Linked DNA regions of Homo sapiens: all the other regions are linked to region 3. The links are contacts of gene promoters, found by promoter capture Hi-C in human tissues and cell types (Jung and others, 2019). All regions are on one chromosome and are shown on one strand. The core of a region is centred on a gene start or on the middle of the fragment in contact, and the rest is flanking DNA. Distances in the headings are between cores, read along the strand shown. Region 1 holds the start of LOC105371813 (a long non-coding RNA gene). Region 2 overlaps LOC105371811 (a long non-coding RNA gene). Region 3 holds the start of SNF8 (SNF8 subunit of ESCRT-II). Region 4 overlaps TTLL6 (tubulin tyrosine ligase like 6).

Region 1 (5,301 bases), core at 1,511-4,010, 130 kb after region 3:
CTCTACTAAAAATACAAAATTAGCCAGGCGTGGTGGTGCATGCCTGTAGTCCCAGCTCCCGGGAAGCTAAGGCGGGAGAATCACTTGAATCCAGGAGGCAGAGGTTGCGGTGAGCTGAGATCGTGCCATTGCACTCCAGCCTGGGCAACAGGCTGGAGTTTGAAAGAAAGAAAGAAAGATAAAAGAAAGCACTAAACATTTTCCACCCTCTGCAACACCTCCAGGGAAGAGGAGAGTAGTCAACAGGTATAGTCCTTCAGAAGTGGAAATAAGACAGGGACCCTCCTCTGAGTTTTTTCCAAATAACCCGCAATGGACCCGTCCCAGTGGACCCGTCCCAGTGCTCATTCCCTCCCCCTGGTGGCCAATGTAGGACATTTTCGTGCTGTCTAACCAGGATCTTGTTGACAGCCTCTGGCTTGGAAGATCTCAAGATCAAACCCTATACTAAAATGGAAGGAAACATGAGAATTTTTTCAGTGTCTTAACTATATCCTACTTGGAAAGGTGGACTAATACCCTTCCTTAATGACACAATGCTCTTTCTTGTGTCATTAAGAAAAACTGAAGATGCTATTTTGCTATTTACTGTGTTTGTTACATTGGTAGTACAGCTCTTAGTCTTTTTTTTTTTTTTTTTTTTTTTGAGACACTGTCTCCCTCTGTCACCCAGACTGGAGGGCAGTGGTGCGATCTGGGCTCACTGCAACGTCCGCCTCCCAGGTTCAAGCGATTCTCCTGCCCCAGCCTACCGAGTAGCTGGGATTACAGGCGCCTGCCACCATGCCCAGCTAATTTTTGTATTTTTAGTAGAGACGGGGTTTCACCATGTTTGCCAACTTGGTCTCCAACTCCTGACCTCAAGTAACCCACCTGCCTTGGCCTCCCAAAGTGCTGGAATTACAGGCGTGAGCCACCGCACCCAGCCTTAGTCTTTTAAAAACTCTCTAAAGCACTTAGTCCACTTTGTCTGTCCACTAACCCAGCATAATGGGAAGATAACTTGGGGACCAGGAAGCTGGGGTTTTGATGGTGCTTCTGATTTCTTGCTCTCTGGCTGGGTACAAGTCCCCTCCCCTAGCACAGACTGGCAGAGGGCAGAGAGTTCAAAACCTCCTCTAAAAAGATTCCTCCCAGCTCTAACATTCAGGAATTCCATAGAAGCTTAGAAAATATTCTAATTACACCCTTAATAGGAGCCCTGGTACAATGTGGACATTGGAGAAAAGAAGGGAAAGAGAGTGAAAATAAATACAAGTAGAAACAATACAGCTGTTACCAGGTTATGGCAAATCTGGAGAGATCCAAGCCCTTGTTGGAGATGGGAATTTAAAGCAGTTGACTTTAAGGAAAATGATGTGGGACCAACTGATTATTTTTCTCTTTTTCTTTTTCTTTTTGTTTTTGAGGCAAGGTCTAGTTCTGTCTCCCAGGCTGGAGTGCAGTTGTGTGATCTCTACTCGCTGCAACCTCAGCCTCCCGGGCTAAAGTGATCCTCCCACCTCAGCCTCCTGAGTAGCTGGGACTACAGGCACACGCCACCACACCTGGCTTATTTATTTATTTATTTATTGGTAGAGTGGGGTTTCACCATGTTGTCCAGGCTGGTGTCAAACCCCTGGCTCAAGTGCTCTGCCCACCTTGGCCTCCGAAAGTGCTGAGATTACAGGCATGAGCCATCGTGCCTGTCCCCAACTGACTCTTAAGAGACTAAAGTCACTAAGATTGCTTTTGGGAGTTAGGAGATCAGTTACTTTAGTTTATGGTCACACTATTTATGGATGGCCTGCCGAGAGGAAAAGGCAGTGAGGGGAGCATGGAGAGACAGGCTGTGGGGTCAGATGGACATGTCTTCCAACCCCAGCTGTGCCTCTTACCTTAGTCTCTCTGTCTCAGTCTTCTCATCTGTAATAGAGGAAAGAGTATCCATGATAGGTTATTATGAGGATGAGACATTATGTTTATAAATGCTTTAGTGTAATGTCTGCTACTTGGTAAGTGGGTTTTCAATAGTCTATTGTAAGTGAATGAAACAAGCATTTTAAGTGCCAGCTATATGAGAAGGACCCAAGGTTGATGTTTTAACAATGTAAATAACAAATGTTACTTACCTAATGCTCACAACAACACTTCTGTTATATAGCTAAGGAAAATGAACCTTGGAGAAGCTTAATTAGTTCATGCATTTATTCATTCTTCCAGCCCATTAATTCAAGGAGCATATGAACATCTCATTTTTAGTATCTTTTCTAGACACTGCTAGGAGCTGAGAATGCAGAGACACAGCCTCTTCCATCAGGAAGTTCACAGTCCAGGGTTACACAGCTGGTAATGGTAGAGAGCACTTTGTGGGTACCTTCTATGTGCCAGGCACTGTTCTAAGAACTTTGTGTTGCATTAAGTCAAATGAGTAAACTCATTTAATCTCCATAACTGGGAGAAGCCACTTTACAGATGAGGAAACTAAGGCAGGAGGTTAAATAAACTGCCTGAGTTCAGACAACTAGGAAGTGGCAGAGCTGGGATTTAAATCCAGACAGAGACTTCGAAATCTGAGTTCTTAGCTACTACACTGCAGCTGCCTCTTAATAAGTGGCTTAGTCACCTGTAGCTGACGGCAGAGGCCCTTACACCATGATGTATGTATATTTCAGGATGCCACCAGCAGCTCCCCTCACTCCTTTGTATTCTCCTTAGGCCATGTCTTTTGCCTTTCCTCCTTTTATTCCTCAAGGCTACAAGACTGCTTTTGGTGTTGGCACCAACAAAATTGTTACGCAAGACAATAGGTGGGAACTACCAGGTGAGCAGGGAGTGGTTGCTAAGACTGTTAAGAGAAGTCTTGTAGAACCAAATAAAGTCCACATCTGAAAAGTCTGAGCGGGGGGTGGGGGGGGGGGTCCCAGCATCACCTGGGTCAGATTTAATTCTTATTCTGAAAACCAGGGAATTAAAATGCTTTCTGGCTGGGCGTGGTGGCTCACGCCTGTAATCCCAACACTTTGGGAGGCCGAGGTGGGCGGATCACCTGAGTTCAGGAATTTGAAACCAGCCTGGCCAACATGGCAAAACCCCGTCTCTACTAAAAATGCAAAAATAATTAGGCCGGCATGGTGACAGGTGCCTGTAATCCCAGCTATTTGGGAGGCTGAGGCAGAAGAATAGCTGGAACCTGGGAGGTGGAGGTTGCAGTGAGCTGGGATCGTGCCATTGCACTCCAGCCTGGGTGACAGAGCAAGACTCTGTCTCAAAAAAAAAAAAAAAAAAAAGCTTTCTGCTCAGCCCTGGTGGAAGTAGCTTTTGTTTTCACTTGAAACTGCTTGGAGGCCAGAGATACTAGAGCAGAACTGGTATAAATTCAGATGTCTATAGGGTCAGGCATATAGTTTAAATGAAAGAAGTGGGCTGCGTTTAAGAAAATGTCACCTCTCTTGAGCTGGGCACAGCGGCTCATGGTTGTAATCCCAGCTACTTCCAAGGTTGAGGCAGGAGGATCTCCTGAGGCCAGGCATTTGAGACCAGCCTGGGCAACATAGCAAGACCATGTCTCTAAAAAAGAGATGTCTCAATGCTACTATAAGAAAAATAGGCTGGGCATGGTGGCTCACACTTGCTTTGAGTAATCCCAGCACTTTGAGTGGCCAAGGTGGGTGGATCACCTGAGGTCAGGAGTTTGAGACCAGCCTGACCAATATGATAAAACTCCGTTCTCTACTAAAAATACAAAACTTAGCCAGGCATGGTGACAGGCACCTGTAATCCCAGCTACTCGGGAGGCTGAGGCAACAGAATCGCTTGAACCCAGGAAGCAGAGGTTGCAGTGAGCCGAAATCATGCCACTGCACTCTAGCCTGTGTGACGAGTGAGACTCTGTCTCAAAAAAAAAAAAAAAAAAAGAAAAATAATAATATAAGGATAACTGTCACTTGGCTCCTGTGTCAGGGAAACAAAAAGGAGTGTTGGGCATTGGGGCAGACTGGGAAATGTCTACAGGAGGCATTACTGAGCTCTGGTTGATTGCTGGCATGAAGGAATAGAGACCTCTCCAAAAGAAATGGAAATCTGCATTTTCTAGTTGTTGGCAACTACATATATATACACACACATACTATATATATATATATATATATATATATATACACACACATACTATATATGTGTATATATGTACTATATATATATACACACATACTATATATGTGTATATATGTACTATATATATATACACACATACTATATATACACATAGGTTTTTTTGTTTGATTGTTTTTTGAGACAGGGTCTCACTGTTGCCCAGCTGGAGCGCAGTGGCATGATCACAGCTCACTGCAGCCTCAATCTCCTGGGCTCAGGTGATTCCCTTACCTCGGCCTCCCGAAGTGTTAGGATTATAGGTATGCGCTACTATGCCCCAGAAGTAGACATTTCTGCAAGCTAGATTCAGCATGCCTGTCCCCAGTAGGCAAACTTTGAAGGAGATGCTCTTTCAGGATCTTTGGAGAGACAGGATTCAGCCTTGGAGATTAAACAGGGAGAGAAGCTTGGGGGAAATGAAAGCAAGGAGGCCAAAGACAAAGCAAAAGTAGTCACATGGCAAGTACCATTTGCCATCTTGCACCTGTCTCGGGTACCATCCAAGATGGCTCTTATGTCATAGGCAGCCTAGAATACGAGGAAATGCAGGCAATAATTCCATGGTGAAACAGTTTATCTAAAAGTGCATGGGCTCAATTTTTTACTTTACATGCATGAGGCCCTCTCATGCAAGAGCAAACATAATTTGACCTTTTTTTTCTTTTCTTTTCCTTTTTTTTTTTTTTTTTTTGAGACAGAGTTTCGCTCTTGTTGTCCAGGCTGGAGTACAATGGCATGATCTCGGCTCACCGCAATCTCTGCCTCCCAGGTTCAAGCAATTCTCCTGCCTCAGCCTCCTGAGGAGGTGGGATTACAGGCATGCACCACCATGCCTGGCTAATTTTCTGTATTTTTAGTAGAGACGGGGTTTCTCCATGTTGGTCAGGCTGGTCTCGAACTCCCGACCTCAGTTGAGGCCTCCCAAAGTGCTGGGATTACAGGCATGAGCCACCGCGCCCGGCCTTTCTTTTCTTTTTTTGAGACAGGGTCTCTGTCATCCAGGCTGGAGTGCAGTGGTGCAGCCATGGCTCACTGCTGCCTCAAACTCTTAGGCTCAAGCAATCCTCCTACCTCAGCCTCCTGAGTAGCTGGGACTACAGGCATGCAGCACTGCACTCAGCTAATTTTTTTTTTAATAGAGATGGGGTCTCACTTTGTTGCCCAGGC
Region 2 (5,671 bases), core at 748-3,247, 200 kb after region 3:
CTCTTCCAACCAAAATCTTCACCTTCTCCTCAAATACCACCAACTGTGAGAAAAACAATACTTTGTTATGTAGGCATCACACTCTTTGTAGAATCTCAATTTCCCTCATCTTGATTGATTGTCTCCAAGCAGCCCTGTAAGGAAGTATGGGCAGAGAGGATCACTTCCATTTTACAAATGAGAAGACCGAGGGCTGCAGAGAGGAGATGGCCAGTCCAAGGACACACAGCTTGAGCACAAGCCAGAGCAGAGACAGCAGTTCAGGCTTTCCACCTCAGTGGTACCCTAAAGGCAGGAAGGAGTGAGAGATGGCAGAGCTAGACTGGCCACTCCACCTCTGAAACAGACCATGTTCTTTCTTTGGTTTCCTTGGGAAGCATTCAGGCCTCTGGGTGCATCCCCAAGGCAGGAAATGAACAGTCCTGCCTCTAGAGCAGCAATCTTGCCTTTAGATCTGGAGCTGTGTATCCAGTGTTTGAAACTTACATAATCCAAAGACCCACCAGAGGATCCCATTCTTGGCTGCCTCCAGTGAGAGAAGGAATGAGGTCTCTCACTCCAAGAGCAATGAGGGGACCAAAGGGAGTCAGAAAGTGACATAGTGGGTGGGCAGGGGAGGGCACTGCTTATCCCAGCTCTCCTTTCTTTGGCAGGGAGTGGAGGGAAGGATGTAGCTCTCCTGTCCATATCTGGCTGCCACAGCCAGAGGACAAGTGAGGAAGAAACCTGTAAGAATCAGTTGTTTGGTTCAACATAGAGCAGTCATCTTTTCTGAGGATGTCCAATACCTTTTGAGAACTGGGTTGGCCCAGGTTTTTAAATAAAGTAATGGCATGAAAAATGGATTGGGAGCAATTGTTATAGGTTATAAGACAGTTGAGAGACATCAAGCAAATGTAATGTATGAACTTTGTTTAGATCCTGACTTAAACTAACTGTAAAAAGACATTTTTGAGAAAACTTAGGAAATTCAAACATGGATAGTATTAAGGAATTATTCTCAATTTTGTCCTGTGTGACAATCACATAAAGGTTATATATAAAAAAAGCAAAAGAAGAGTGGCTTACGCCCATAATCCCAACACTTCAAAAGGCCAAGGTTGGAGGATCCCTTGAGGCCAGGAGTTTAGAGACCAGCCTGGGCAACAAGCGAGACCTTGTCTCTACAAAAAATAAAATAAAACTAGGCTGGGCGCAGTGGCTCATGCCTATAATCCCACCACTTTGGGAAGCCAAAGAGGCAGATCACTTGAACAAGGGAGTTTGAGACCCATCTGGGAACCCCCGTCTCGACCAAAAAAAAAAAAATGTACCCAGGCATGGTAGCACATGCCTGTAGTCCTGTAGTCCTAGGCGTGGGATCCCTTGAGCCCAGGAGTTCAAGGCTTCAGTGACACTGCACTCCTGCCTGGGTGACAGAGCAAGATCCATCTCTAAAAACAAAAAAAAATTTTTTTAAACCTGTTAAAGATTCAAACTGAAGAATTTTGGAACAAAAAAAAAGAAAAAAAAAGAAAAGAAGTCTGGGATTTGCTTTAAAATACTCCAGAAAGAAGGCTGAGCCCGGTGCTCATCATAACTTTGGGAGGCCAAGGTGGGTGGATCACGAGGTCAGGAGATGGAGACCATCCTGGCTAACAAGGTGAAACCCTGTCTCTACTAAAAATACAAAAAATTAGCCAGGTGTGGTGGTGGGCGCCTGTAGTCCCAGCTACTTGGGAGGCAGAGTGAGACTCTGTCTCAAAAAAACAAAACAAAACAAAACAAAACGAAACAAAAAACCTCCAGAAAGAAATGCAATAAGATGGGCTATGAGTTGATTATTGTTGAAGCTGAGTGATAGGTATGAGGGGTTGAATTACACTTTTTTGTTTACTTTTCTGTATCTGTAAAATTTGCCATTAGAAAACAAATCAATAGGCTGGGCACGGTGGCTCACACCTGTAATCCCAGCACTTTGGGAGGCTGTGGCGGGTGGATCACGAGGTCAGGGGTTCAAGACCAGCCTGACCAACATGGTGAAACCCTGTCTCTACTAAAAATACAAGAATTAGCCAGGCATGGTGATGTGTGCCTATAATCCCAACTACTCAGGAGGCTGAGGCAGGAGAATCGCTTGAACTCGGGAGGCGAAGGTTGCAGTGAGCCGAGATCACGCCACCACACTCCAGCCTGGGCAACAGAGCGAGACTCCGTCTCAAGAAAAAGAAAAGAATAAAGCAGTAGGCTCATGTCCTAAAAAACCACACATGTACACCAATGTTCACCCTCAATTTTAAAGGGTGAGGCTTTGAGAGCCACCCATAAAATCAAATTCAGAATCCTCAGTGCCCACCAAATACCCATTTTTTTCCCCCATAGAAGGGACAGGCTTGGAAGGTGTTTTGGCACCAGGTTGACCCAACCATGCTTGTTGACCCAAACATGACAGTTTTCTGCTGTCAGTGTGGGTAACAGAGCCATTAGAGGAGTTTGAGCCTCCCACAATTCAACTCTAGGTGAACATTTGCCAGGTATAGCTCCTTTGTTACTCATGTGGACTCAGCCTCCAAAGTAAAACAGGGTGGGAGGAATGGGGTGGGAGGAAGAGGACAGAAATTGGTTCCCACTTTTGTAGTTTTAGAAGTCATGGGGGGCACTGATAAAAAAGATGACAGTGTATTAAAGGGTTTTCTTCATTTTATTTCATTTTTTGAGACGGAGTCTCACTCTGTCACCCAAGCTGGAGTGCAGTGGCACGATCTTGGCTCACTGCAACCTCTGCCACCCGGGTTCAAGCAATTCTCCTGCCTTAGCCTCCCGAGTGGCTGGGACAACAGGCATATGCCACCACGCCCGGCTAATTTATTTATTTATTTATTTATTTTTGTAGAGATGGGGTTTCACCATGTTGGCCAGGCTGGACTTGAACTCCTGACCTCAAGGATCCACCTGCCTCGGCCTCCCAAAATGCTGAGATTATAGGCTTGAGCCACCACTCCCAGCCGGGTTTCTTTATTTTAGAGTTCATGTTTTGATTTTTCCAAATTCCTTAATTTTTCCCTTTTCCCTTTAATAATTTCCCAAATATCTTAAGTCTGTTTTTAGTATTAGTTTGAGATACTAATGAGATATAATGAAATTTATTTCCATTTTAAAATTTGTCATGGTCGGTTGCAGTGGCTCATGCCTGTCGTCCCAGCACTTTGGGAGGCTGAGGTGGAAGGGTCGCTTGAGCTCAGCAGTTTGAGACCAGCCTGGGTAACATGGCGAGACCTCGTCTCTATAAAAAATTTTAAAATTAGCTGGGCGTGGTGGTAAGTGCCTGTGGTCCCAGCTACTGAGGGGACTGAAGTGGGAGGATTGCTTGAGCTCGGGAGGTCGAGGCTGCAGTGAGTCGAGATCGCGCCAATGCACTCCAGGCTAGGTGAGGGAATGAGACCCTGTGTCAAAATAAAATAAAATAAAATAAAATAAAATAAAATAAAATAAAATAAAAATGTGTCAACGATTTGTGTTTGGAGAGGGAAGAGAAGTGAAAATATCAGAATCAGGATTTGGTGCCATAAAGCCTCGATTTGCCTCTAGAAGTTGGACAAATTATCTCCTAAACCTCAGCTTTCTTGTTTTCTTTTACTTTTTTGAGACTGGTTCTCCCTCTGTCTCCCTGGCTGGAGTGCAGCAGCGCAATCACGGCTCACTGCACCATCCAACTTCGGATTCAACAGAAATTCAGGGTTCAAGCCAGGCTGATCTGGAACTCCTGGGCTCAAGCGATCCGCCGGCCTTGGCCTCCCAAAGTGCTGGGACTGCAGGCGTGAGCCACCGTCCCGGCTCAGTTCTCTTATCTACAAAACGGAAGTAACAATTTCCCCCCACTCCTGCCCCGTTCTTTTGTTGTGCGGATTAAATAAAAGGCGTCTACAGGGTACTTAAAGTACCCTGCACTTCGAAGACTTTCCAAAGGGACTGCCCCAAGGACCCCTGGAGGGCTATGGGATTAGAGATGTAGGGGTCTGCGCGGCCCGAGGTGCTGGCCACAGTGGCGTCAGGGAGTGCAGCTTCTCAGTCCCGGATCAAGAAGGCGGCAGCTCTCCACCCGCCAACGCACTAAGCGGGTTTTCGCCTTGAGGTACGACCTGCGCTCAGGGTGAGGATCGGTGGAGGGCAGGTGCACCTACCAGCATAGAGGAGATCTTTGCGTGAGTAGGAGGAAGGGACTGCAAGAAGACTCCCCAGCTCTCTTGCTGCGCTGGCTGGACCGTTAAAGACCTGACCCGCGGGCCGCAGGGCGCTTTACCATCCAGGAGCTGGGGAGTAAACCCCGGCCGGTGAGGTGACTCAGTATTGGGATTACTGAAAAATCTGCCCGACCAGGTGTGTTTACACACGCAGAAGGAAGGAAAGAATGTCTCTGGGACAAAAAGGGGGAAAATTCTTTAGGCTGGCCTCTAGTCTTGATGAAGAGTTAGTGGGTTCCCCTTAATTCCTATGAATTCTCCCACCTGAGAGCGTCCCACCTTGCCCGCTTGACCTGCACGGATCTCGGGCAGTGCAAGGCCGGGGAGGATGGGCTGGTCGGCGTCAGTCTGTGCTTTCCCTCGTCCAAAGCTTGGCCTGCACTCCCAGGGCAGGTGATTCCCGAGGCTAGAAAAACCATGCAGATGGGGGTGGAGGATAAAGGGGCAAAGGAAGCAGAATCTACCGGTAGACTGGTGTGGGGGATTCCAATTCCAGGGCAGAGAGCACCCCTGCCCCCACAATCTCTATCTGCATCCCCCACCCAAGGCAGCTGGAGATCTGGGCTGGGTCTGGGCCGGACAGGTTATTGAGAGGGTGGAGGGCATGGAGAGACCAGGGTTTGCTTCCCATGGTTCTTCCCCAGCTCCCCAACCTGTCTCTGGGGCTAAGCACCATTTCTAGGGAAAGTTTCCAGGTTCACCTCGAAATTAAGAAACGGGGAGCCCTGGCCTTGCCTCACAGAGCTAGACCAGCAGTTTTTCAGCCTGGGAGGGGCTACCCTTGTGACCAAGCTTTGAGTCCTTAGGACTTAGTGGACATTGAGCTGGAACCAGAACAACATCCTGAATGTGTGAGCTTCCACATACACAAGTCCCGGACTGCCTGACTTTTTGGATTCTCCTGGGGCAGGCATGGAGAACAGTCAGGGCATCACCAGAAACTCTAAAACTGCATCCAGCTGCCATAGCTGTCTGCCTTTTGTATTCTTTATTTCTTCTCCTGCTCCCACTTCAGTAGCTCAGAGCTGCCTGGTACCACAGAACTGGCCATGGGTTGCCTGAGGTCATTTCTCTCTGAATTGGGCAAGACAGCAAACTTGCCAAGGCATCTGCCACCCAGCTACCCAAGTACAAAGCTTGCTAGCACTGCATGATCTCCAAGGATTCTCCTAACCCCAAACACCAACTGACTAGTTTGGGGAGCCAGGGAATTTGGAGCTCTCTGCTCTTTAAGAGAAGGGAAAGGTGGGGAGCTCTACATATCCCCTAAGCAGAGAGCCCTAATTAAGGATTTCATAGAAGGATTCTCCTTCCTTCCTTCTTTCCTTCCTTCCTTCTTTTCTTTTCTTTCTTTTTCTTTCTTTCTCTCTTTCTCTCTCTCCCTTTCTCTCTCTTCCTCTCTCTCTTTCTGTCTCTCTTTCTTTCCCTTCCTTCCTCTTTCTTTCTTTCTT
Region 3 (5,889 bases), core at 563-3,062:
AGCCTCTCAAGTAGCTGGGATTACAGGTGTGAGCCAACACATCTGTCTACTTTTGCATTTTTTTTAGTAGATAGAGGGTTTTACCATGTTGGCCAGGCTGGTCTCGAACTCCTGACCTCAAGTGATCCACCTGGGTCAGCCTCCCAAAGTGCTGGGATTACAGGCGTGAGCCACCGCGCCCGTGCTACTTTCATTTTCAATAAATCCCTTAATTCCTTCCTTGCTTTGTTTGTGCGTTTTGTCCAGTTGTTTGTGCAAAACCCCAAGAACCTGGAACACCCTCCACCGTTAACATATTTTGGCGAGCCAGCCAGGAGGAAAATGTAAGCCCAAAGTTTGGGATTTATTTTCCCCCTTTTTCCTTTTCCTTTCTACTCCATAAAGGGGAATCTCTCCCTCTCTCTGTCTTCCTTTCCAACCCAGGACCGTTGGTGGGCAGCGCCCAAACATGGAAGCAACTGCAGGTTTTTGGCCATGGCCAGTGAAACTAAGGGGTTTCCATGTGGAGAAGCCTAACTACCACCTCCTGGTTCGCTTAAGGAACCTGGGTCTTTTTCGTTTTTTTCCTTTTTTTTTTTTTTTGAGATGGAGTCACTCTGTCACCGAGGTTGGAGTGCATTGGCAAGATCTCTGCTCACTGCAACCTCTACCTCCCAGGTTCAAGGAATTCTCTGCTACAGCCTCCCGAGCAGCTAGGATTACAGGCACCAGCCACCACGCCCGGCTAATTTTTTGTATTTTTAGTAGAGACGGAGTTTCACCATCTTGGCCGGGTTGGTCTTGAACTCCTGACCTCGTGATCCACCCGCCTCGGCCTCCCAAAGTACTGGGATTACAGGTGTGAGCTACCGCGCCCGGCTACAGATGACTGATTTTATCTCAAACAATGAATAACAATCATAAATGATATTTATTTGTGTGCCAGGCATTGCACTATATAATTTACTGCTTTTTTTTTTTTTTTTTTTTTTTTGAGACGGAGTCTCGCTCTTGTTGCCCATGCTGGAGTGCAATGGCGCGATCCTGGTTAACTGCAACCTCCGCCTCCTGGGTTCAAGCGATTCTTCTGCTTCAGCCTCCCGAGTACCTGGGATTAGATGCGCACCACCACGCCCTGCTAATTTTTTTGTATTTGTAGTAGAGACGGGGTTTCGTCTTGTTGACCAGGCTGGTCTCGAACTCCTAACTTCAGGTGATCCGCCCGCCTCAGCCTCCCGAAGTGCTGGGATTACAGGCTTGAGCCACCGCGTCAGGCCATGAGTAGGTATTATTCTATTTCACTACAGCGGATAGTGAAACATAAAGACATTAAAATAATTTGTCTTAAGTTCCTGGACCATATGTAGTGGAACTGAGCTTTGTAGCCAGGCAATCTGTCTTCAGAGTTCAACTTAACTTCAAGGCGCTTGGTAGTCAGAATCCTTTGTATGTGATTCCAACAGGTTAACTCCTTTAGGGCAGAGGGCTGTTTTATGCTCAATATGGAACCTTGGATGGCCAACACAGCGTGTGGCACGTAGGAGGTGGTCCAGGGGCATTTGATGACCTCCAGGCAGTGGAGAGGCAGTCGAGGAAGACCAGGGCCCCAGGCGCCTACGTGGGTGGAATGCACAAGGTTGGCCTTGGCTGCCGGGGCTCCATGTCCCAGCACTAGCCAAGGAGGGCCTCAGCCGCGCTTGAATACTCGTGCTTTCCTCGCCGCGAGGCTTTGCGAATCTTGGCCACTAGCTAAAGGCGGGGTCGCCGGGCCGGTAGGAACTGGAGACACTCAGCCTCGCGGCAGGAAATGCGGCTCGTGGCTTCCGGCGCGTGCAGATGACGCGCGGCTCGGGCTTCCGCCTTGGGGAGCCGGCGGCGGAGTCCGGGACGTGGAGACCCGGGGTCCCGGCAGCCGGGCGGCCCGCGGGCCCAGGGTGGGGATGCACCGCCGCGGGGTGGGAGCTGGCGCCATCGCCAAGAAGAAACTTGCAGAGGTGAGCAGGAAGAAGGCCGACCCACAACCTGCCCCTGACCCGTGCGAGACTGAATTGTCCCGGAGCAGTGTCCTACCCGTTAATCACCTCCCAACAGAATCTGAGACTGGCTTCTCGGCCCCGGGACACAGAATTTCTCCAGCTTCCGGTGGATTGGCAGCGTTCCCAGATGCCCAGCCCTTTCTCCCATTTACCCAAGTTTAACTACAAATGGGATTCTACTCACAAATCTACAGTCGTCGATTCTACTCCTTCACCCTATCCTTCTCCCTAAGAAAACAATTTACAGAGATCCTCCTCTTTTCATCCCAAAGCTGTGGCAGCACAAATGGGGGAACCCAGCGCCCACTCTGTGTTTTTTTGTTTTGTTTTGTTTTTTGAGACAGAGTCTTGCTCTGTCGCCCAGGTTGGAGTGCAGTGGCGCGATCTCGGCTCACTGCAACCTCCACCTCCAGGGTTCACGCCGTTCTCCTGCCTCAGCCTCCTGAGTAGCTGGGACTACAGGCGCCCACCACCACGTCCGGCTATTTTTTTGTATTTTTAGTAGAGACGGGGTTTCACTGTGTTAGCCAGGATGGCTCGATCTCCTGACCTCGTGATCCGCCCGCCTCGGCGTCCCAAAGTTCTGGGATTACAGGCGTGAGCCACCGCGCCTGGCCTCCAGCGCCCACTCTCTTAACTTATGCTGGTCTCTTTGTCTGACAGGCCAAGTATAAGGAGCGAGGGACGGTCTTGGCTGAGGACCAGCTAGCCCAGGTAAGTCGGTTGGGGGGCCCCAGGCAGGGAGGGAGACCTAACCAGGTCTGGCCAAGACACCTTGGATACGAACTTGATTGTGTAGATTGAACTAGAAATAGGGTGTTTGGCAAATTTTGATTTCTGAGCCGCTGAGATCTTTTAGGTGACTTGCTAATAACAATAATGGCTAACATCTTTGAGTGATTACATGCTTGTAACGTCCCAGGCATTTGTCTATTTTCTTTACATAGACTGTCTTGTTCAATCCTCATTACAGTCCCATAAGGAAGGAACCCTATTATTCTGAGGTGTTTGTTTGTTTGTTTGTTTGTTTTTTGAGGGAGTCTTGCTCTGTTGCCCAGACTGGAGTACAGTGGCACGATCTCGGCTCACTGCAGCCTCCGTTTCCTGGGTTCAAGTGATTCTCCAACCTCAGCCTCCCGAGTAGCTAGAACTACAGACATGCGCCACCACGCCTGGGTAATTTTTGTATTTTTAGTAGAGACGGGTTTCTCCATGTTGGTCAGACTGGTCTCAAATTCTTGACCTCGTGATCCGCCCACCTTGGCTTCCCAGAGTGCTGGAATTAAAGGCGTGAGCCACTGTGCCGGGCCCTAATTTTTGTTATTTTTTTTTGTAGAGGCAGGGTTTCGCCATATTGACCAGGCTGGTCTCAAACTCCTGGCCTCAGGTGATCCACCCGCCTCGGCCTCCCAGAGTGCTGGGACTACAGGCGTGAGCCACCGCGCCCGGCCATATTCTGAGTTTAAAATTGAGAGCCGGGTGCTGTGGCATATGCCTGTAATCCCAGCACTTTGGGAAGCTGAGGAAGGCTGATCACCAGAGGTCCATAGTTCGAGACCAGCCTGGCCAACATGGCGAAACCCCGTCTCTACTAAAAATACAAAAATTAGCCGGGCGTGGTGGCGGGCTCCTGTAGTCCCAGCTACTGGGGAGGCTGAGGTAGGAGAATTGCATGAACCCAGGAGACAGAGGTTGCAGTGAGCCAGGATCATGCCACTGCACTCCACCTTGGGGGACAGAGCAAGACTCCATCTCAAAAAAAAGCAAAAAAAAAAAAAAAAAAAAAAAAAAGGCCGGGTGCGGTGGCTAACGCCTGTAATCCCAGCACTTTGGGAGGCCGAGGTGGGCAGAAATTGAGGACACTGGGGTGTTAAGTAATATATCCAAGGTTATATGGGTAGTAAGTGGTAGAGCTGTTATTGATTTAGGTCCTCTGGGGCTTTTCATTTTAAATACCTCAGAATAAAATGAAAATATTGCCTAACCTGTGGCACCCACACCACCATCATGACATCTAGGCACATACCAGGACAGTGTGTGAGTGATGGGGGGTGCAGCTCCTGTGCAGTTTTCTTTTCCAGCCCTTCCCTTCTCTGTACGTGCTCCGAGTTTACCCAGTGATTGTGATTGGGGAAGAAGTGGAGGAAGCCGTTAAGCAGGAAAATGGGGCTGTGAGCTGAGGAAAAATAGTAAACCCAGGCTGTGCTCTTCAAAAGCACCCACTCACAGGGGAGATGGCATGCAGGAATCAACTGAAAATGGTGATTAAAATATGTGGAGGTTTCTTTTTTTTTTTTTTTTGAGACCAAGTTTCGCTCTTGTTGCCCAGGCTGGAGTGCAGTGGCGTGATCTTGGCTCACTGCAACCTCCGCCTAAGAATGTGGAGGTTTCTAACAGTTTTATATGAGAAATAAATATTGGGCTAGGAGTGCTTATTTTTGGTGGGATAGAAGATGGTCCTTGTTAATTAGGAAAAGAGAAGGGGTAATACAAAGTCAGAAAATCCCCAAGTCTTTTGTATTTAACATGAAATGGAATCTGGCAAATTACAGTCCCAGAGCAGTTCTTTATCTGGAGTTGATCCCCAGGGAGGTTCATGACTCAAAAGTTTTTTGTTTTTTTAATTTATATTGGTTGATTGATTGATTGGCCCTGTGCGGTGGCTCACATCTGTAATCCCAGCACTTTGGGAGGCTGAGACAGATGGACTGTTTGAGGTCAGGAATTTGAGACCAGCCTGGCCCACATGATGAAACCCTGTCTCCACTAAAAATACAAAAATTAGCCAGGTGTGGTGGTGCATGCCTGTCGTCCCAACTAGTCGGGAGGCTGAGGCAAGAGAATCAACTTGAACTGGGAGGCGAAGGTTGCAGTGAGCTGAGATTGTGCCAGTGCACTCCAACCTGGGCGACAAAGCAAGATTCTGTCTCAAAAAAATTAAAAAAAAAAAATATTGATTGATTGAGACAGTCTTGCTATGTTGCCCCAGCTAATCTTGAGCTCCTGGGCTCAAGTGATCCGTTGTGGGATTACAGGTGTGAGCCACCATTCCTGGCCAGACTCAAAGGTTATAAACAGATTCATGTGACGCTTCACTTTTTCCCATCCAGCCTTTCTGTCGGCTGGGGGGGGTAAAGATTTTCTAATGGGTGAACACTGCATTCCCTCATTTCTAAGATATGATGAATTATTAGGTACATCTTCAAATTAATACGTTTTTCTGGGAAAAAGAAAAGGAATACCACATTATATATATACCTTTTTCTTTTTTTGTGCATATATTTGGTTGTATATATGTGCACCTTGATTATTAAATGCATGCTGATTTTAGAAGAGGAATACATGAAAAATTGTGTATTTTGGAAGTGAGAAAACAGTACAGCATCCCATTTCTGCTGACAACAGAACTGTGAAGGAGAGGCAGGGATAAAAAGAGAGATGGTAAACAGCATAATGGTAGGCTGAGGGAGACTGGTTATTTCAGCCTTTGCCCTGCCACAGGGCTGGGGACCTGTTTTTGGCATCTGATTATCATTTGGCTGGGCTGCCCTTCACCACTCCCTGTCCATCCAACAGATGTCAAAGCAGTTGGACATGTTCAAGACCAACCTGGAGGAATTTGCCAGCAAACACAAGCAGGAGATCCGGAAGAATCCTGAGTTCCGTGTGCAGTTCCAGGACATGTGTGCAACCATTGGCGTGGATCCGCTGGCCTGTAAGAAGTTGTCTGTAGGGGTCCAGCGTTCTTATAGAGTACCTGAGGAACAGAAGCTCACATAGTTGTTGTTACCACTGTTGGGGCATCCACTAGAAAGGCCTGCAGGAAGACCCAGAGGATGCTGTCTTTTTGAGACGGAGTTTTGCTCTGTCGCCC
Region 4 (5,921 bases), core at 3,279-5,778, 150 kb after region 3:
TTTAGTACAGACGGGGTTTTGCCATGTTGGCCAGGCTGGTCTCGAACTCCTGACCTCAGATCATCCATCCGCCTCAGACTCCCAAAGTGCTAGAGTTACAGGCATGAGCCACCACGCCTGGCTTCAGAGGACTTTTTAATGTTACTTTGTTTAGTTGCCAAGGTGCCTCTTAGAGGTGGTTACTTGTGTCACTTGACAGATCAGGAAACCAAGGCACAGTGTGGTTTAGTGACCTCCACAGGGTCACATGTTGGGACACAGAGCCCAAGTCTCCTTGTTCCTCTCTCTGACCCTGGACAAGCCTGCCCTCCACAACACTAGGCAATGTTGGAGCCAACTCCATGGAAACAAGGCGGGAGCTAGTGATTTTCAAGTGTAAATTTCTCCTCTAATGCATGTCTGACTTCTGTTCTCTCCTTCCAGCCCTTTATCATTGATGGGTTTAAGTTTGACCTACGGATTTATGTACTGGTGACATCCTGTGACCCTCTCAGGATTTTTGTGTACAATGAAGGACTGGCCCGCTTTGCGACGACCTCTTACTCCCGCCCTTGCACAGACAACCTGGTGAGCTAAGGAGACACACTACCTCACCCTACCCCCATAGCGTGATTAAAAAAAAAAAAATTCTAGTTAAATCCACATCCTCAAGACATTGTGAGTGTCATTTGTTGAGCACTTGCTATGTGCCGGGTTTCATTTAGCGCTGCCAGGATCCCTCAGAGAGAGGGATTATTATCCCCATTTTACAGATGACGAGATTAAAACCCAGAGCATAAGGGACTTGTCCAAGGTCACACAGCTAGGAAGAGGTGAGTCTGGGGCTTGTGGCCAGGTCTGCCTGACTCCAAAGCCAGAACCACAGTTCAGGGGTAATCAAGGAGAAAAGGCCGTGGATGAGCAACCCTGCCATCCCCACCTTTCCTGGACCCCCAGGACTCCTGAAGTTTTTCTCAGGCTGGGCACCACCCAATCTCAGAAAGAACTGGAGTTTCTTTTTTTTTTTTTTGAGATGGAGTCTCGCTTTGTCGCCTAGGCTGGAGTGCAGTGGCATGATCTCGGCTCATTGCAACCTCTGCCTCCTGGGTTCAAGCGAGTCTCTTACCTTAGCCTCCTAAGTAGCTGGGATTACAGGTGTGCACCACATCCCCGGCTAATTTTTGTATTTTCAGTAGAGATGGGATTTCACCATGTTGGTCAGGCTGGTCTTGAACTCCTGACCTCGTGATCTGCCTGCCTCAGCCTCCCAGAGTGCTGGGATTACAGGCATGAGCCACCACGCCCAGCAGAATTGGAGTTTCTTAGGCTCGAGGCTGCAGGACACCCCTTCTTACTTCCTGTATTTTGCCACACTAAATAAGCCCTAAAACTTCCCTTTCTTTCCATCCCTTCAAGCCCCAGGGGCCATGGGAGGGCACAGAGAGGAAGCAGGGGGCCTGCCCTTCCGAGCTGACCCGACAGATGTGTGTCTTTTTCCCCAGGATGATATCTGCATGCACCTGACTAATTATTCCATTAATAAGCACAGTTCAAATTTCAGTCGAGATGCACACTCTGGCAGTAAGAGGTAAGGAAGAGGCTTCATTTTTCTTTCCTTTCCCTACCAACCTCAGAACTGCTTTCTGGGATTCTACCCAAACCCTGTTAGTCCCCATCAGTGTTTCCATCTTGGGTCACATGGTCTGAGAATATACTCCTTTGCCTCGCAACCCAGAACAAATTCCTTCATCTCTGCCCTCTTGGCTGTTAATCATTAAAAGAAGGCCCCATCGTAAACCCTGGGAGGCTGGGAGGAGGAGAGATAAACATGAGCTGTTTCCCCAGCAGAATATATACACACACCAAAACATACCCTTATTACAGTTGGCCCTTCTGATATTTCCAAATCAACAGATATTTATTGATCGCTAGTCTGCCACGTGAGAAGGACTTGCCAGGCAGTCATTGCTTGGCCCATGTTCCCCTGGACGTTGCTCCATTAGAGATTCTCAAATGATGTGTCACAGTGCCCTGACATGTGGCTAGCCGGCTTGAAGATTCCTCAGAAGGGGGGAAATTGAGAGCAGTTCATGAGAGTATCTTCACGAGAGGCTTTTCCATTCCTGTTATTGTCTAATCGGGTCTCATTTGAGTTTTAAGAAAACGGGGGACTGAAGAATGTGAACTTGACCAGGTGAAGGAGGAAAGGGAAAAGGAGCAAGTATTTCTGAGGCTTCATGTGTGTTGGGGTCTGTGCTTGGTGCTTTCTGTGCATTTTTTATTGCTGAATTTTTCTTTTCTTTTCTTTTTTTTTTTTTTCTTTTGAGACTGAGTCTTGCTCTGTCGCCAGGCTGGAGTGCAGTGGTGCGATCTTGGCTCACTGCAACCTCTGCCTCCCGGGTTAAAGCAATTCTCCTGCCTCAGCCTCCCAAGTAGCTGAGACTATAGGCATGTGCCACCACACTCCGCTAAGTTTTGTATTTTTAGTAGAGACAGGGTTTCAGCATATTGGCCAGGATGGTCATGATCTCTTCACCTCGTGATCTTCCCACCTCAGCCTCCCAAAGTGCTGGGATTACAGGCGTGAGCCACCGCGCCCGGCCTATTCTTGAATTTTTCACAGCAACACTATGGCAAAGGCATTACTATCTGCCCTCTGTAGGTGGAGAACTGTGAGTTAGGTGCCATCTCCATCTTACAGATGAGGAAACTGAGTCTCAGAGGTTGCGTGAGTTGCCCCAGGTCCCGCAGCTGTGACTGCTAGACTGGGTGGAGAAGCGAGGTCTGTTAGACCCCAGAGCTCATTCTCTTTCCGCTGCACCAGGCTTCAAAGGACCTCTGAACAGGCAATTAGTTTGGCTTCAGACCATCAGAGAGGCATGTGACAGTTCATGACCCCCTCAGTGGCAGCATTCCAAAAAGCACACAGAAAATCGCTAAGTTAAGGCTGCTTAAAGGGGATGTGGAAGGCTGGTGGGAGGCAGTCTCCCCCTTTTCCAGAAGATGTCAGCCACCTGTGCTGCCTGAAGCTCTGCGACTTCCTCCTCTCCTCCCCACCTGGGCTGTGGGCATCAGCTGGGCCTCTTGCATTGCTGCGTTCTGAGCGTGGCACTCTGGGAGGTCTAGTTTGTAGTCCCGGCTCCGACACTTGCCAACTAGGCTTGGACAAGTTACTTCATCTCTCTGAGCCTGCACTTCTTGGTCTGGAGGATGAACGTGATGAGACTCCCTGCCCTGCCCTGCCACCTCACAGGGTCTCTGTGAGGTTCAAATGACTTGTGATGGCAACACAGACAGTGTGCGTGGTTACTGTCATTTTTCCTTAGTCTAAGGGCACAGAATGGAAAGGTTCTCATTTTCCTCCTCCAATGAGAATTGGCACCCCAACAGCAGGCCCTGGGCCCTCGGCTGTGATGGAGGGGTGTCTCGGGGTAGCAGAACTAAGGTGAGGTTGCAAGGCTTCAAGTGTTGTTCTGCCTCTTCCATTTCCCCTGTCCTCTTCCTCTGTTCATCTCCCTCTCACCCCACTGTACTTCTCCATCCACTCTCTCCTGGAGCAGCCGTGTGCCCCCGTGGCCTCCGCCTGCCCTTGCTGGGCTCAGCCTGTCTCCCTTGGGCTCCAGGTCCATCTCTCCTCAGTTCCACCTGGACGTCTTCAACTCAGCATTTCCCAGAATGGGTGTATTCTCTCTCCTTGCCTCCACCGCAGCACTCCAAATTGGTCTCCCTGCCCAACTTCCCCATCTCTACCTTCTCATCTCCAGGGGTGGAGAGCTTGGACATTTCTTTTCCTAGTGATAATTTACATACTTGAACCCACTTAATCCTCCTCACAACAACACTATGAAGTCAGCATTATCATCATCCCTATTCTGCATATTAGGAAACTGAGGTGTGAAAAAGTTAAGTAACTTACCTGGGTCGCACAGCTAGGAAGCTGGGATTGAAACCAGGGCTGCCTGACCCCCGAGTTGGTGCCCTTACCCACTAAGCCATGCTGCCCGTGCCATCCACTTCATGGACAGGGCACTGTCTTTTTTTTTTTTTTTCTTGAGACGGAATCTTGCTCTTGTCACCCCAGACTGGAGTGCAATGGCGCGATCCCGGCTCACTGCAAAAGTTTCGACTCCCGGATTCAAGCGATTCTCTTGCCTCAGCCTCTCAAGTAGCTGGGATTACAGGCGCCCACCACCATGCTTGGCCAATTTTTTGTATTTTTACAACCCTCATGGTCAACATCAGCCATCGCCCATAACTATTCTTTGCCCAGTGCACATTTGTCTTTTGTCCCTAGTTGTACTTTGCTCCTTGAGGGTTACAATGGTGCCCTGGCCTTTGGGGTTCTTCCCATAGTGCTGGGCAGAGTTCATCTTTCCTCCTCTCCCTCCCATCTTGTTTCTCCTTTCCTCTTCCTCCTCTCCATCTTTTGAGACAATCTTCTTCTCATACTGACTGTCTCATCTGTCCCAAAGTTGGCGTTTGAGGTCAACTGCCCTCCCTGTCAATACCCCACTGGCGCACAAACTCAGGAGTAGTGCTGCGGTCACAGTGAAGGAGAAGACAGGAAACCTGAAAACCTGGCAGGATTCTGGGGCAGACACCAAGCCATCTTCATCTTTCAGTGTGCTCAGCACATGGCTGGTATTAAATTGAATTGACTTACCACTGGGCATTATGAAATTACACAATGAAGTATATTCATTGTGATGAGCCTGAGTCATCAAGAAAAGGTTATGTTATATGTTGCCAGGGAGGTGTATAATCTATTTCAGGAAAATTTATTTCCCAATTAGGCAAATTAAATACATTTTCTCCACTTGAAAAAAATTGGCTTAAAGCGATCTGGAAAATCCATTTATGTGCAACACTGTTTTCTGACAATGGCAGGTGGAGGAGGTGGCCTCTATATTGAGTATCCTTTGCTTATCTGTCTTTATATAAATGCATCCTTGGTTGTTTCACATGTGTGTTGACTCCCTGAATGGTCCTGAGGCTTCCCATGACAGAGGTGACAGTTTCTAGTGTCCCCTCCTTGCATGAGGCTTTGCATGCACCAAAGGCCCTTATCAAATGCTCATTGTCTGGCTGACCCTGCTTCCTCCTTCTTGACCCCTTGGGCTGGGATCTAGTGAGCTTTTGAAACTGCCTGGATGAGCCGTGTCTCTTGTCTTTTTCATTCTTTCTGCTGTTCACTCCCCTGCACCTCCTCCTTCCACACTGCCACTTCCACTTTGGCTGTCTGTGCACATTTGTGTGCATGTGAGGTGGCAAATGTCTGTCCCCACCACTGCCTCTTGGATTTGTGACATCCATCCTCTCTCTGTAATGCCCAGCTCAGAGCTGGCTGAGTACCCACTCAGGTATTTCCTCATGAACTATTCCACATGAGGTAAACATCTCTGAGTTCATCTGTGATCAGGTGACCAGCTGTCTCCGTTTGCCCACGACTGAGGGGTTTCCTGGAATTCAGGACTTGCAATTCTAAAACTGGGACAGTCCAGTTTGCCTGGCACAGTTGGTAACCTTATCTGTGGACATGCCCTTGGGTGCCTTTTCCTTGTGGGCAGCCCTAAAACAAGTTTTCTGTGTCATTAGTGTCCCTAGAATCCCCTCAGATGGCTGAGGTGGGACCCAGGCATCAGTGTTCTTAAAAGGCTGCCCACATGCTTCTAATGAACACCAAAGGCTGAGGAATCATTGCTGCCAAAGTAAAACCATGGTGTCAGGGGGTTTTCTTGACTCATCCCTTCCCCTGCTGATAGATGTTTTCTGGGTCACAGTGAAAGTGAAAGTGTCCTGACCATGTCCTATGTGACTGCATCTGCACCCACCCTGGGGCTCTGGAGACTTGGAGGGTGTGGTCCTGGGATTCCTGGGACCTCATCTGGCACCGACACAGCCCAGGTGTCACCCTGGTTCCTGGGCGTTCATCCTCGCTGGCT

What was found. Contacts are between HindIII fragments. The study calls those that stand out against the background at their distance.
Region 1: a fragment that was not itself captured here is called in contact with the fragment with the promoter of SNF8 in region 3 in 11 of the 25 tissues and cell types used here (IMR-90 fibroblasts, adrenal gland, dorsolateral prefrontal cortex and 8 more).
Region 2: a contact is called between a fragment that was not itself captured here and the fragment with the promoter of SNF8 in region 3, in 1 of the 25 tissues and cell types used here (lymphoblastoid cells).
Region 4: a contact is called between a fragment that was not itself captured here and the fragment with the promoter of SNF8 in region 3, in 1 of the 25 tissues and cell types used here (spleen).

What each region holds. Positions count from the first base shown.
Region 1 is chr17:48,809,664-48,814,964 of GRCh38, reverse strand. The region is part of intron 1 of TTLL6 (tubulin tyrosine ligase like 6); the gene reads left to right. LOC105371813 (a long non-coding RNA gene) reads right to left here and starts at 2,725. Exons shown (of 4, transcript XR_001752926.1): 1 at 2,606-2,725; 2 at 1,878-1,905. The HindIII fragment of the contact is 4,960 bases long and covers 281-5,240 here.
Region 2 is chr17:48,737,496-48,743,166 of GRCh38, reverse strand. It overlaps LOC105371811 (a long non-coding RNA gene), which reads right to left. Exons shown (of 3, transcript XR_934823.2): 3 at 1-43. Among named protein-coding and RNA genes, the nearest start is that of HOXB13, 12 kb to the right of the region's middle. The HindIII fragment of the contact is 8,003 bases long and covers 1-5,671 here.
Region 3 is chr17:48,940,765-48,946,653 of GRCh38, reverse strand. It overlaps SNF8 (SNF8 subunit of ESCRT-II), which reads left to right and starts at 1,812. Exons shown (of 8, transcript NM_007241.4): 1 at 1,812-1,973; 2 at 2,679-2,729; 3 at 5,592-5,730. The coding sequence starts at 1,920. RefSeq lists a silencer at 1,870-2,099. The HindIII fragment of the contact is 34,253 bases long and covers 1-5,889 here.
Region 4 is chr17:48,791,707-48,797,627 of GRCh38, reverse strand. TTLL6 (tubulin tyrosine ligase like 6) reads left to right here. Exons shown (of 16, transcript NM_001130918.3): 7 at 424-567; 8 at 1,482-1,567. Among named protein-coding and RNA genes, the nearest start is that of TTLL6, 23 kb to the left of the region's middle. The HindIII fragment of the contact is 6,945 bases long and covers 1,056-5,921 here.